Linked DNA regions of Homo sapiens: region 1 is linked to region 2. The links are contacts of gene promoters, found by promoter capture Hi-C in blood cells and fetal thymus (Javierre and others, 2016). All regions are on one chromosome and are shown on one strand. Each heading gives the region's core, a stretch centred on a gene start or on the middle of the fragment in contact. The rest is flanking DNA. Distances are from core to core; before and after follow the strand shown. Region 1 overlaps M1AP (meiosis 1 associated protein). Region 2 holds the start of PCGF1 (polycomb group ring finger 1).

What was found. The method cuts DNA at HindIII sites, captures the fragments that hold promoters and counts their contacts. A CHiCAGO score of 5 or more calls a contact.
Region 1: a fragment that was not itself captured here is called in contact with the fragment with the promoter of PCGF1 in region 2 in 2 of 17 cell types (naive B cells and total B cells); the score reaches 5.7 in naive B cells.

What each region holds. Positions count from the first base shown.
Region 1 is chr2:74,614,684-74,621,337 of GRCh38, forward strand. M1AP (meiosis 1 associated protein) reads right to left here. Exons shown (of 11, transcript NM_001321739.2): 3 at 281-466. It also overlaps the pseudogene TOR1BP1. Among named protein-coding and RNA genes, the nearest start is that of M1AP, 30 kb to the right of the region's middle. The HindIII fragment of the contact is 1,812 bases long and covers 856-2,667 here.
Region 2 is chr2:74,505,650-74,512,947 of GRCh38, forward strand. It overlaps PCGF1 (polycomb group ring finger 1), which reads right to left and starts at 2,046. Exons shown (of 9, transcript NM_032673.3): 1 at 1,927-2,046; 2 at 1,393-1,498; 3 at 1,083-1,235; 4 at 532-603; 5 at 303-408; 6 at 88-121. The coding sequence starts at 2,019. RefSeq lists enhancers at 1,309-2,239, 1,876-2,055, 2,796-2,855, 7,119-7,298. The HindIII fragment of the contact is 5,812 bases long and covers 1-3,991 here.

The DNA.
Region 1 (6,654 bases), core at 512-3,011, 110 kb after region 2:
GATGGCATATTCAGATTTTATTTTTATTTCAGTTTTTCCTCATAATTCACTTCAGTCTGTATTTTTAGAGCTCTTCTCTATAACTATCTCTACATTAAGAACTGTACAGGTTATAGGAAGAAGAGAAACATGTCCTCTGCCTGTAGGGAGCTGAAAATCTTGCTTTGAATATTACATCTAGAGTGAATGAAAGATAGAACAATGTAAAGATGATAAACAATGACCTATATGGACTGAAATCGGAACACAGCTTGGAGTCCTAAAGGCCAGCATCACTTACCTCCAGGGAGGTATAGGTCAGAGCTGCCCTTGTGGTCACATGTCTGCTGTATTGTTTGAATTGCTGGAGCCCATCCTCTACTGCCAGCCGCAGAGAAGCACCTTGTGATCTGAAACACCCTTCTCTCTGTAACATGCGGAGTTCTGAGATGCAGGTCTGCAACCTAGCAAAGTTCCCTTTCACTTGCTGCAGAGAAAAACGAATCAAAGACACAAGTCTTTAGGGACCAGGTTTCAGATTAATTGGCAGTCTAAATTTATTATAAATAATTCCTCAGAAGTTCCTTCCCTTCCTGAAAATTTATTTGACCAACATCTACTGAATTCCTATTGTGTTCTAGCCACTGCACCAAAATCTTCCCTACACTAGCAGAAGGAAAATTTGCAGCCATAAAGGTTTTGATTACTTAGAGTTACCAGAAACATGAAAGGAAGTGTTTTAACTCATTCACTCACACAAAGGGAAATCCAGTTGTGTGACTGCTTAGTTTTACTTTGGGGTGACCTGCAAACTGGAGGCCAGACAGTGTTCACCTTAGACATCATCTTCATTTCTTAGTCAGTCTAGGCACCAAAAGCTTCTCTACTTAAAAATGAGGTTTTCCCAGAAGTGAGAATTTTGATGTGGTTGATCACTTCAGAATTCATACGTCCTATCTAATACGCTCTTTAGGATAACTTCAGTAAAGAAGAGATATTTGGGTTAGTCTGCAGTCAGCTTAAGGAGCCAACATGTTAAACCGAGACAAGCGACCTTTTGGTTCTCCTCATCTACCTTTATAAAAACTTGCTCTTAGGAGTCAACTAATTTAATCTGATACTAGGTCAATGTTACTTCTCCTAAGGATATATGCATTTTGATAAATGTGGACTGAAGATTTGTGACATCATTTGAAGGGATTCCATGCATCAATAGCAGGTGGGGGGTGGGGAAGAATTATATTTTGGGATGGGGACACCTTCCTGACCATAGAGCAGAACTGAGTGATATCTGTAATGCACATAAAATCCATGAGCATGAGCTGTAAACCTGCCAGAATACAAAGACTGCTTAAGTCAACACCTTCCTGGGCTTAGCTCCACAGTTGATATATTCTTCTCTCCCCAAGTCTTTGGGGTGAAAACACAAGGAATTGCATATAATTCTTACACAAAGAAAACTTGTAATCTAGAAAGGAAAATAAGAAAACTATCCGAGAAAGAAATTAGAAGAAATCACACCACAGGTGTAGCCTAGTAGGCTTTAAGCATTTCTTCTCATGTACCCACTAAAAGAATCTGAGAAACAATGTACCCCCTTATGCATTTTTAAGTGAACATCTATATTTTAAAATTCCAACTTTATAAGTGGTTGCTAACGATGTAACTTCCTGCATATTTTAAATATCAACATTTAAAAATAAAACTATAATATAACTCTTCAAAACAGTCCAATTGAATCTAAATGCCATGGTGATTTGATACTCACCATTATTCAGTGTTAAAAGTACATGAACAAGCTCTTTTTTTCCCAAGAGATAGAAATTTAGATTGTTCCTTTTTCTCCTTGAACTCATATTTCCATTTCACTTTCCCTGAGAGTTTTATCATAATGTAAAAGAATTTTTATGCTTGGCAACCTTTTATTGATCATCCCATCATACTTCTCTGCATCTAAAACAGCTATATTTTGCAAGAGTTCTAAGTTTCCTATGAGCATAGGCTCTAAGGGGCACTCTAGATTGAGTTATTATTAGAATTATCATTCATATACAATTTATTAAAACAACATGTATATACAAATTTTGAGAAATAATTATTGGCATTAAGCATAGCTTTAATTGGAAATGTTTCTCTTAATAATTGGAAATATTCCTCTTAATGGCATGGACAAGCTGGGCTCTTCTTTCAATTAGCTCAGGTTTGTGTGAATAAATAAAATAATTACTGATCGAATGACACAACATTCAGTATCAATTTTTATTCCTATTTTATTTATTTGGTGGCCAACATGGGTTGAGTTTATTGCATCATTATAAACAGAGAAAAATCTTGTTTTCTCTTGACCAGATACCCAAAAGGCTATAAAAGAAATGTAACTTAACTCCAATTTGAGAATATGTACTAAAAATTTTAAGCCTCACCTTGGTATTTTAAAAGACTAAATGTGATACCCTACAAGGCATTTTGATGTCACAAATTCATTCTATTACATTTTATATACAAAAATGCTACACCATTGTTCTAATTATGTGTCTGCAGTTGTACTACAACTATAGGACAGACACAGAATGATTCAAAATAGCTGGAATCTAAGCCTTACTTCTCAGTGATCAGGGCAGTCCAGCCTGGTGATGTCATATAGGGTGTCATTAGATGACACCCAGAACCAGCCACAACTTCGGACTAAGCTTGTTTGTGTCTACAATTGTGATGACATATTACTATGGATTTAACAATAAAAATTCCAAGCTAACGCAGGAACAGAAAACCAAATACTGCATGTTCTGACTTATAAGTGCGAGCTAAATGATGAGAACACATGGACACATAAAAAGGGACAACACACACTGGGGCCTGTCAGAGGGTGGAGTGTGGGAGGAGGGAGAGGATCAGAAAAAATAACTAATGGGTAGTAGGCTTAATACCTGGATGATGAAATAATCTGTACAACAAACCCCCATGACACAAGTTTACTTATGTACCTGCACATGCACCCTTGAACTTAAAATAAAAGTTAAAAAAATTCATACCATTTGTTTTAAGAGTGTCTGGGAAAAAATAAGCAATTATTCCATTTTGTGCCCTTCTCATGTTTTAAAATAAGCAATGTTCTATATTTCTATTATCGAAGGTTCAGAAGTAAAAACATTATAATAAATATACAAATCCTTGAAAACTCTTAGCATTTCTAGTGTTTAATACTCCCACTTCTTTGGCAATGCCGAATCTGCAAACTGACTGCTTAGTCTGTGCACATGTCAACTATGGAGAATGTGCATGTCCTGTGAATTTCAAATGGTTCTCTGGAGTAAAGCAAGAGATTGACCCATATTTTAAAGGTAACAGCAAACGTTTAACCTTAGGAACCAAGGACTCAAATTTGAAGCTACAGTCTTATTCTGATTAGCTTCTATGATGATATGGTTGGGGGGAATTTAGTAGCAAGTGAAGGTCAGGAGAAGATGTGGTACAAGGAAGGCAAGTGGGTAAGTGATATCAAGTGAGAGATGGGTGAAGGAATTCCATGATCACAGATGTAATCAGCAGCCACAGCAATGGACCTGTCTGCCCTGCTCTGCAGAGACCTCAGATGGAGCTCCCACCCCACATGCAGACAGTTCACCCCAGGCCAAGAGTGCTCAGCGTGCAGGGCCATGTCCTCCCACCAGACACCACCTGTACCTGTCAAGTGCCACCAATTTAAACTGAAAATACAAGTCAGTGAACCCTCTCTGTGTGAAGAAAAAGAAACAGCAGAAGAATGTTTTTAGCAGGTGAAAACCTAATGCTCTTCAGACTGTAGCAGGGCCCTTGAACCCCTTCAGTCACAACAGTAGCTTCTGAGGTGTGGGTGTTGTGGGTCAGAAACAATCCTCGATCCTCAGGCCTCCCTTGCACAGCTGTTTCCAGGCACTTCTGTCAAAGTCAGCAACAATAAGTGTGAAGGGGATTTTATAGTTTATCTTTAACTGCAATTAACAGCTGGATTGATGTCATGTTGCAAAATGACAAGTGCACTTGACAGATTAGTGTCTTTTCAAAAACCAATTCTTAGAAACTTCTATATCCCGAAAGTTCACAGGTGCAAATGTGCCAAACCCCAAAGAAGTCTTCAAAATGCCTCTGAAAGGCAAGGTCCCTCGTGTGCTGAGCCTCCCAAATCCCTCTTATCCCATCTGGTTAAGAGCTCAGTGGAAATCTAGCTGTCATTGTTCAGTCTTACAGCTCTTGACTGAGTAGATTTTCTTGTCTTTGGGGAAAAGCGTCATTTCCTCTGCCACTCTTGTGACAATGTCTTCATCTATAGCAGAACCATGGGCCCTCATCTCTGCCTTCATGCATATTTTCACGTCTGTACTTCATCGGCAGGAAAAAGGTAAAGTAATTGATTAAGGTTTTGTTGATCAGTCCATTGCACCACAGACCACTGTGCTTATTATTGAAGACTATCAGACGGCACAGGTTCCAGGTCCTTCAGCTAAATGTCTTCCCTCCTTCCTCCTACCCACCAAAAGTCAAGAGCTATCTCAGTTATGAGGTCCCTGTCTATGTTTCTGGGAAAGATGAAGATGGCTTTTTGGTAAAAACCTTTTTGTAGTGGTCTAGAAACAGACTGATTGTGTTGACAACCCTGGGGGTGGAATTTATGCATCTTGTCAAATATGAAAATAGCTGGAATATGCACTCACATTACCATGAATCCACTTCTGTAACTGGTCCTAGACCAACCATAAAAGATGAAATGGGATGGGGAGGCTCAAAGGATGCTCTGAGGGAGCAGAAGCACTATGCTGCTCTTCATGCTCTAAAAGACTTAAGATCAGAGCTCCCTGGGGAAGAACTCTAGGAAACTGCACTCTCACCTCCATTCAGTGGGTAAGTTTTTCCAAAACTTTATCTATACAAAGTTGAAATTGGCAGAGAGATAGGTGCTAAAATGCAAGGAAGTTTTTTCCTAACTCAAATGACATGTTAAATGTGACTTTTTTAAAGGTATAAGAGACACAAGATACATAAATATTTATCATTCACCGTTAACTAATCCATAGTGTTCATCTCACTGTGAAGCAAAATCTCAACTTAATATTACCAGACATATTGAAGAATAAGGAACTAGATTAAGACTTGCACAGTGCCCGAGACCAATGCCTTGTACTGACGGAATGAATGAAGGAGTTGACCTAGGTGACATCTCATGAAAAGCATTTATTCTGATACATTCTTGGAACAAAAAGACACCCAGGCAACAAGCTCTCAACCTCACAATGTAAAAAGGTTGTGACCAGGAAACTCCCCCAGATACATCCTTATTTATTTTACTATATTTCTAGAGATTTACGAAAAAATGTGAAAAATAAGAAAATTATTCCTGATTTTGGCAGTCTTCTCTATCTTACAGTTTGTGTGGCAAACACTCACTTTCACTTCCTTGTTCAGTTAAGTTTCTGTTTCTTATTTCAGTCCCCACCTAATAGTGGGAATATTAACCTTGACAAGGACGACATTCATTTAAATGAGAATGAACCCTCCTAGATAATGTAATACAAATTAAATGTGGAAGGAATATCTGAAAAGGAGAAACAGTGTCAATGTTCAGTTATTTGAGGCTTTCTTTGAAGAAAGCAATGCCAAGGACTCGAAAGATGAGAGGAACAAAGGGAATAAAAGGTGTTTAGAAGAAAAGAAATCCTCTAATCTACATTGCAACATGCAGAGGCAAGGCTGAGGCTGCATCATAGGTGGAGAGCATTAAATGACCCCATGCCCAAACAACCTGCTGAACAACCCCCACCTAACACCAAATGCTCTGTGGGAATGTTGAGTGCATTCATTCATTGGAGAATGTGACTACCATGTAAACTGGGAGTTGGGAAATTTGGGTTCAAGTGTGTCTTAACTCAGTGGAGCCTGGGGCTACTGCAATGCAAAGAAAAGAGAAGCAGAGGCCAGAGTTAGTGCAGTTTGCCCAGACCAGTCCAAATGGCCTGTGAACAAGATAATGCTGGGTTCTCCTGCCTGGTACAGTTTTTTATCTTTTGCTCATGAGGGAAGTACAGAGTTAGTACAAATAGGTGGAGAGTTACTCTTCAGGCCTTTTGAGTGAAGACGTTCAGCCACAATTTGGCTGACAAAATTCTTGCCTATGCCAGCTCAGCCACGTAAGGAAAGAATTAGTTGTTTCTAGGAATTTCTGTTGCTTCTGAAGCCAGTCAGTGCCTTGAGAATCACTTCCGCGGCAACATGCTGTCCAAACAGCTTCTCCTTCAAATCCAGCTTGAGGGCTCTAGGAGTCAGCTCCAGAATAGAGAAACACACCTTAAAAATGCGCCAGAAAGGCCGGGCGCGGTGGCTCACGCCTGCAATCACTTTGGGAGGCCGAGGCAGGCGGATCACGAGGTCAGGAGATAGAGACCATCCTGGCTAACATGGTGAAACCCCGTCTCTACTAAAAATAAAAAAAAAAAAAATTAGCCAGGCGTAGTGGCGGGCGCCTGTAGTCCCACCTACTCGGGAGGCTGAGGCAGGAGAATGGCATGAACCCGGGAGGTGGAGGTTGCAGTGAGCAGAGATCGCGCCACTGCACTCCAGCCTGGGCGACAGAGCGAGGCTCCGTCTCAAAAAAAACCCCAAAAAACAAAAAAGCACCAGAAAAGCAGCACTTTCCCAGCTGGC
Region 2 (7,298 bases), core at 796-3,295:
GAGGGGAGGGAAGAGGGCAAGGTGTGTGAGGGAAGGACCATGGGAGGTGAGTCTCCTTAGAGAGGCCCTCCCCTCAGCCCTTCTCACCTGCAGGACGCTTTTATTCTTGTCTTTGCCAGAACTGGGGGGAAATAGACACAGGTTAGGGAATCCTATCTTTCCTCCTCTTCCCCACCCAGAGCCATGATATACTCTCTTCAAGGGGATAGGCACTCACTCACTGCTCAGCCTCTCCCCTAGACCCTCCCTGGCTCTGGGTCATTGGCACTGTCACCTCCTGCAACCCCTGACCTTCTCCTCACCTCAGCCGCTCCAGGCACAGGTTCAACTGCTCATCATAGCGATAGTAGTGGGCTTTAGAGTGGTCAAAGCTGCTGAAGGGGAGGCCGAGGTTGCTCAGTGCTGGCTCTGAGAAAGATAGGGTAGTGAGGTGGCTGGTGGCACACATTCCATACTCCTCTTTCCCCAGAGAGCAAAACTGGGCAAGAAGAATGCTCTGGGGTCTTTACTGTCCCGCGGCCAAGGACATACCTTCCCCAGTGGGCTGGGTGACCCGGTCCAAACCTCGGGACTGGTAGAATTCCCGAATCCGTTTCTCTTCACCTAGAAGAAGGTGAAGTATGAGAATAAAGTATTAGCCCTTCGGGGCCGGGCGCGGTGGCTCACGCCTGTAATCCCAGCACTTTGGGAGGCAGAGGTGGGCAGATCATGAAGTCAGGAGATTGAGGCCATCCTGGCTAACATGGTGAAACCCCGTCTCTACTAAAAAATATAAAAAATTAGCTGGGCATGGTGGTGGGCGCCTGTAGTCCCAGCTACTCAGGAGGCTGAGGCAGGAGAATGGCATGAATCCAGGAGGTGGAGCTTGCAGTGAGCTGAGATTGCGCCACTGCACTCCAGCCTGGGCAAGACTCCGTCTCAAAAAAAGAAAAAAAAGAATAAAGTATTAGCCCTTCCTCACTTTTTGTCCTTCCCTCATCTTTGGCCTTCTGCCTACGTGAGTCCTACCAAACCCGTCACCTCAAGCTGCCACTCAGCAATTAGTCCTCAAGAGGCCCCTCAAAGTCAGGTTGGTGACTCACTGTCTTGCAAGCCAGGCACCAGCTTATACACGATGTCCTGCATGACCCGGTCCAGTTTGAGGTTGAGCAGTGGCTGTGTCTCGTGGATCTTAATGTTGCACATGGGGCAGTACTTGCTAGTTTGGAGGTACTTCACAATACAACTCTTGCAGACTGCAGGAAAAGAAAAGCAGATTCTCAGGCCCTCTGGAAACTGGATTCATGGGCTGGGTGGGGTGCCTGGATGCGTGAGGCAGGCCGCACAGAAGCTGGCAGTCAGCTTGGTGAAGACTAGGGACTGGAAGAACTAGGCAGTCTCCAAGGCACTCACAAGTATGAAGACACTCTGTGATGGTGGTGGCATCCACGAAGTAGCCGGCGCATAGGCAGCAAACAATGTGTTCATTCAAGTCTTTGATCTTCACTCGAACCTCCTCCTGAAGATACACCCTCCGTCACCAATCATCCACCCTCAAACCCCAACCCGTGCGCCTTCCCACCTTGGGGGTCGCCTCCTTCATCACACTAGACGGCCAAGCCCCGCGCCCTGCGCCATCAGCCGGGGATTAGCTCCTGGGGGCTGGCACTCCCCCTCCGCCCAGCAGAGGGCTCCGCGCACAGCGGGGGCTTCCCTCACGTGGACTCGCCTGACCCTCCTTTCCCAGGGGAGACTACACAACGTCGGCGACACAACGCGCAGGCGTCCTAACCGGAGTTTGGCAACCCGATCGCAACCACGCAGGCGCACTGGGCACTCTGTCTCTGCGCAGGCGCACTGGGCGCCCGGCCAGCCACCGCCCGTCCTTTAGCCCGCCCCAATTCGCACCGCTGGCCGACCACAGCAGTAACCCTGCCGCCCTTGCACCTCGTTCCGTAGCGGGTCCATCTTGTACACTGACTGGAGCTGGTTCCGAAGCCTCATCGCGATCGCAATCTGGCCCCCCTGAGGAGACGCCATCTTAAAGGCTGATCCCAGCCGGCCACTTCCGGTGCCGCCTGCAGGGCGGGACTTGTCTCCCAGCAACGAGGTTCTAGGTCTTTTCGGATTCGCTCACCCTCTGTAAGGCCCCGCCCACGTCCCTTTCTCCCTGTGTGCTCACCTGAGCCCCACCGGCCCCTCCCCTGCTCAATCCGTAATTAAGGAGTGGGGGGGGGGGAGCACAGGGAAGGGTCTTATCTCTTCAACCTCCTGTAGAAATCATCATAATAGGCCCTACGCGACCTCAAGACTAACTTTCGGAGCCTGCGAAAGACTGCCCCCTCCTACCCCCAAAGGCCTGGCAGTCTGTGCCCGCTACCCGCTCAGGGTCGTCGGTCTTCTGTGACGACGACCCTGCTGAAGAAGCCCCTCCTGGGTCCTCTCCTCGTAATGCCGCCCTGTCGGCGTCCGCGTAGCGGAGCTTCGTCCAGATGGCGGGTCTTCTCCCGGCTTCACGGAGGGAGTTTCTTGGGCTTTGCAGAGTCTCGGAGAGGGTGCCGGGGGATGGGGAGTGAGAGACCCCCAGGGACTTGGTAGTGATCTTATTCCCCCATTCTCCCCCCTGCTGCCGGGGATGGGGGGGGCAGGCCCTGGTTAATGATGATGATTTAATCATCGGCGCCTGCGGAGGCCTGGGACAGACTAATGCAGAGCAGATGCCGAAGGAGGAGGGGAGGACGACTAGGACACTGCCACACACAGACAGGCTTAGGCAGCGAGCGCCTGTAGTAGCATAGGCCCAGTCCCGCACTTGGGGACTACGCGGGGTGCTCGCTCGAGAGCTCTACACCGCCGGCTCTGGGTACTTAAAAAGGGATAAATTTGCTATGAGGTATTAACATCAAATGCAACTGGAGATACGAGAAGGGAGAGATTCCAATGGAGACCTCAAAAAAGGCTTTCTGGAGAAAGTGGGACTTTGGGCACAATTTAGACTTGGGGGAGGGGGTGGAAGTGTGGTGAAATAGAAAGGACGTGGAGGGGAATGACCAGAGGACAGGAAGGTCAAGATGTAGATTTGAGAGTGGTAATAGAAAAAGCAGGGCCATAAAGAGTTGCGATTTTTAGCCTGAGGGCAATTGGGAGCTAGCGGACTTTTTTGAAGGGAGGTTATCCTGTGAAAGCGACATTTTTGTTCATTTCTCTTCAGAGTGAATTGAAGTGAATATGCAGCAAGAAGTTATGAGATTAGTGATTAATCAATTATTCGTTACAGCCCCTGTTTACCTACTTCCCTGGTCCGAGCCACTATCATCTGTCCTCTGTAGTGGCCTCTTGACTGTTTTCCTTGAGTCCCCCTTCGCCTGTTCTCAACATCACAGTTGAGTGCTGTTTCTCAGAGCTAGTGATTCTGATAAAACATGAAACACAAAGGACAAAGGACAATTTTTGAGATGTGGATATGTTTATTATTTTTATGGTGATGATGGTATCATGGGTATATACATATGTCAAAACTTATCAAATTGTACACTTCAAATATTTGCAGTTTATATGTCCATTATACTTCAAGAAAGCTATTAAAAATAAAGTTGAAAAATTAGGTTGTTCCTTTTTTACGTTTAAAACCTGTTGAGAGCTTCCCTTTTCAATCAGAATGAAAGTCAAAGTCTCAGAGTGGTGTGCAAGGGCCTGCATAGTCTCTTCAGATACACCAGGATATCCTTCCACTGTGTCCCCAACTTGAAATGCTTAGGTATCCAAAATGGCTCCCTCCTTCTTTCAGGTCTTTACTCATGAGGCTGCTGTAATCACTCTAGATGAATAACAACTCACCCACCCTTTCACTTCCTTGCTCTTTTTTTTCTGGTTAGCACTTATTAGCATTCTATCATTTATTATTATTTAATATACATTTCTAATATATATTATATTTTCTAGTTATTTTCAGAAAATATTTTCTAGAAAACATATTTCCTAGTTTTTCATCTGCCTTTTCCACTAGACTATAAGCTTCTCAGTGGCAAGGATTTTTTTTCCTCTGTTGTGTTCACAGATATAGCTCCAGTGCCAGGTGCATAGTTGGTGTTCAATAAAACTTTTCTGGATGAATACATGAATGAATCCAAGTGGTGGTGATGACAGCCTCGATTAGGGTTTTAGCAATGGCAATGGAAAGGAAGGGCTGTATCTGAAACAGTTCAAAGGAAAGTATAATAGGAGGAAGTAGCCAGGAACCTGGCTTGGTAGGCCTGGGTAAGAGGGTGAATGAAGAGCTTTGGAGGGAAGCATGTCCTCCAGCCTGCTGGACTTAAGGTGGCTGCAGGGAAGCAGGGGGAGCTTGTCAGAAGGCTAGGAGAGTGAGCGGTGGGGCTGGAGTGTCAGAACAAGGGATGGAGGTCTCAGAGTTATCTGGCTGGATATGAGAGTTGGGACTTTTGGAATGGGTGAAACTTGAGCAGATGAAGAGATAAAGAAAGCTTAAGGCCTGGTGCAGTGGCTAATGCCTGTAATTCCAGCACTTTGGGAGGCTGAGGCAGGTGGATACTTGAGCCCAGGAGTTGGAGACCAGCCTGGGCAACATGGTGGGACTCCGTCACTACAAAAAGTACAAAAATTAGCCTGGCATGGTGGCGCATACCTGTAGTCCCAGCTACTTGGGAGGCTGAGTTAGGAAGATTGCTCGAGCCTGGGAGGTTGAGGCAGCAGTGAACCGTGATAATGCTACTGCACTCCAGCCTGAGCGACAGAGTGAGATCCCATGTCTTAAAAAAAAAAAAAAAAGAAAAGAAAAAAGAAAGCTTAAGTCTGAGCTCTGAAGAATCCTCACAGTCTTCAGTGGAAGAAGGAAAATCAGTGGAGGAAAAACATAAGCAGTGACTACGAAAGTCCAAAGATGTGGAATAAGATATTACAGAAGCAAAAAGAAGGGACACTTCAAAAAATAATTGATGACCAACAAAGTAAAACATGCCAGGGAAGTCCTGGAGGAGGGATACTGAACACTGGAGCTCTCTGAGAAAGGGTTACTATAATGAAGGCAGCTTGCACTGAGTTAAAACAAGAATAAATCATGATGAAATGGAGGCAGTAGGCATGAAGTAAAAAGGAAAGGAAAAGCATGATCTCTCTTGAAGACTCAGGCAAAGATTTTGTCCAGATGATAAAGATCTGAGACAGCTGAGGGGTAGGAAAGACTAAGTTGATGAGAGCCACGGACACACAGGACATGGTGAGACAGATCCAAAGCAGTGTGTATGAGGGGGCACTCATTCCAGCACCTCTATCTTCGTCTTTTTTTTTTTTTTTTTTTTTTGAGATGGAGTCTCGCTTTGTCACCCAGGCTAGAGTGCAGTGGCGCGATCTCGGCTCACTGCCAGCTCCGCCTCCCGGGTTCACGCCATTCTCCTGCCTCAGCATCCCGAGTAGCTGGGACTACGGGTGCCCGCCACCAAGCCCGGCTAATTTTTTGTAGTTTTAGTAGACACGGGGTTTCACCGTGTCAGCCAGGATGGTCTCAATCTGCTGACCTCGTGATCCACCCACCTAGGCCTCCCAAAGTGCTAGGATTACAGGCATGAGCCACCGCGCCTAGCCAATCTTGAATATAAACCAGCAGGAACCATCCTTTCCCCGTGAATCAGAGACAAGGAGGCAAGAAAGGACATTTCAAGCCAGGTTGGGGTGGTGGTGCACACCTGTAACTCTAGATACTCAGGGGGTCAAAGTGGGAGGATTGTCTGAGCCCAGGAGTTTGAGGCCAGCCAGCCAGCCTGGGCATCATAGCGAGACTCTGTCTCTTAAAAAAAGAGAAAGTCCTAGGACTGTGGTCTGGGTGACGTAACTGGATGCCATCTGTTCTTGAAGTGGGGCACTAAAATATTTTAAAAACTCTCCAGAACACTTGTATGAACTACTGAGTTTGTGACCATTCTCCTTAAAGGATTAGTTGGACAGTCCCTGGGTGGCAGTACCATCTGTGCTGAACTCAAACGGCAGGGGTGTACGGGTCTGCATGATGTTGCCTTTTTTTCATTTGTTGATTCACTCACTGATTCATTCAAGGAGGATTTATTTAGGTTGGCTGGAGACACACTGGTTACCCTGCCCCCCTGCCCCCAGACTCAACCTTCAGAGCAGAGAATGGGACTAGCAAACTCCTAACCTGCACACCAGCCCTCTTCAGAGATTATATTTCTTTGCTGTCTCCCTAGGTTTCCTGCTCCCATCTGGAGGAATCCAGCCCTTGGTACCAAGGAAGTTTTTTTTGTTGTTGTTTGTTTGTTTGTTTTTTTTGAGATGGAGTCTTGCTCTGTTTCCCCAGACTGGAATGCAGTGGTGATCTCCGCTCACTGAAACCTCTGCCTCCCTGGTTCAAGTGATTCTCCTGCCTCAGCCTCCCCAGTAGCTGAGATTACAGGCACCTGCCAACATGCCCAGCTAATTTTTTTGTATTTTTAATAGAGACGGGGTTTCACCATGTTGGCCAGGCTGGTCTTGAACTCCTGACATCAGGTGATCCGTCCCCTCTTGGCATTCCAAAGTGGTGGGATTACAGGCATGAGCCACTGCTCCCGGCCTGAAGATTTGGACTAAACAGGTTCATGCTTCCTTGTAGCCCTCTCTACTGCTGAGAAAAGTGCATGGGTTTCTGTAAAGAGACGGGAGGTGATAATGTCTGTCTTCTCCATCAAGATGAAAATACATCTGCTAAATTGGTAGGAGCCCCCACCCTCTTTCAGAACGGGCTGTTAGCAGGGCTGAGGAGGGGCTGGACAAATTGGATAGTAGAGTGGTCAAGGTGGGGGAGGTTGACACTTTTTTTTTTTTTTCAGACAGAGTCTTGCTGTGTTGCCCAGGCTGGAGTGCAGTGGCGCGATCTCGGCTCACTGCAAGCTCCACCTCCCGGGTTCATGCCATTCTCCTGCCTCAGCCTCCCAAGTAGCTGGGACTACAGGCACCCGCCACCACGCCCAGCTAATTTTTGTATTTTTAGTAGAGATGGGTTTCACCGTGTTAGCCAGGATGGTCTCAATCTCCTGACCTCGTGATCCACCCGCCTCGGCCTCCCAAAGTGCTGGTATTACAGGCGTGAGCCACCGCGCCTGGCAGGTTGACACATATTAATGCCCACTATTCCTCCCACTGCCCTCTGTCCCATTTATGGTTCACCTCCTCTAGATATAAGGCTTCAGAGAACACTGAAGGGCTGGTGGACAGAGCTCACCCTTCTTTCTCTTCTTTATCTTTCTGCCCAGATGCCCAAATATCATTCCTGGTTCCCAGGGGAGAAAAGACCCCTTCACCCTGCCCCAGGC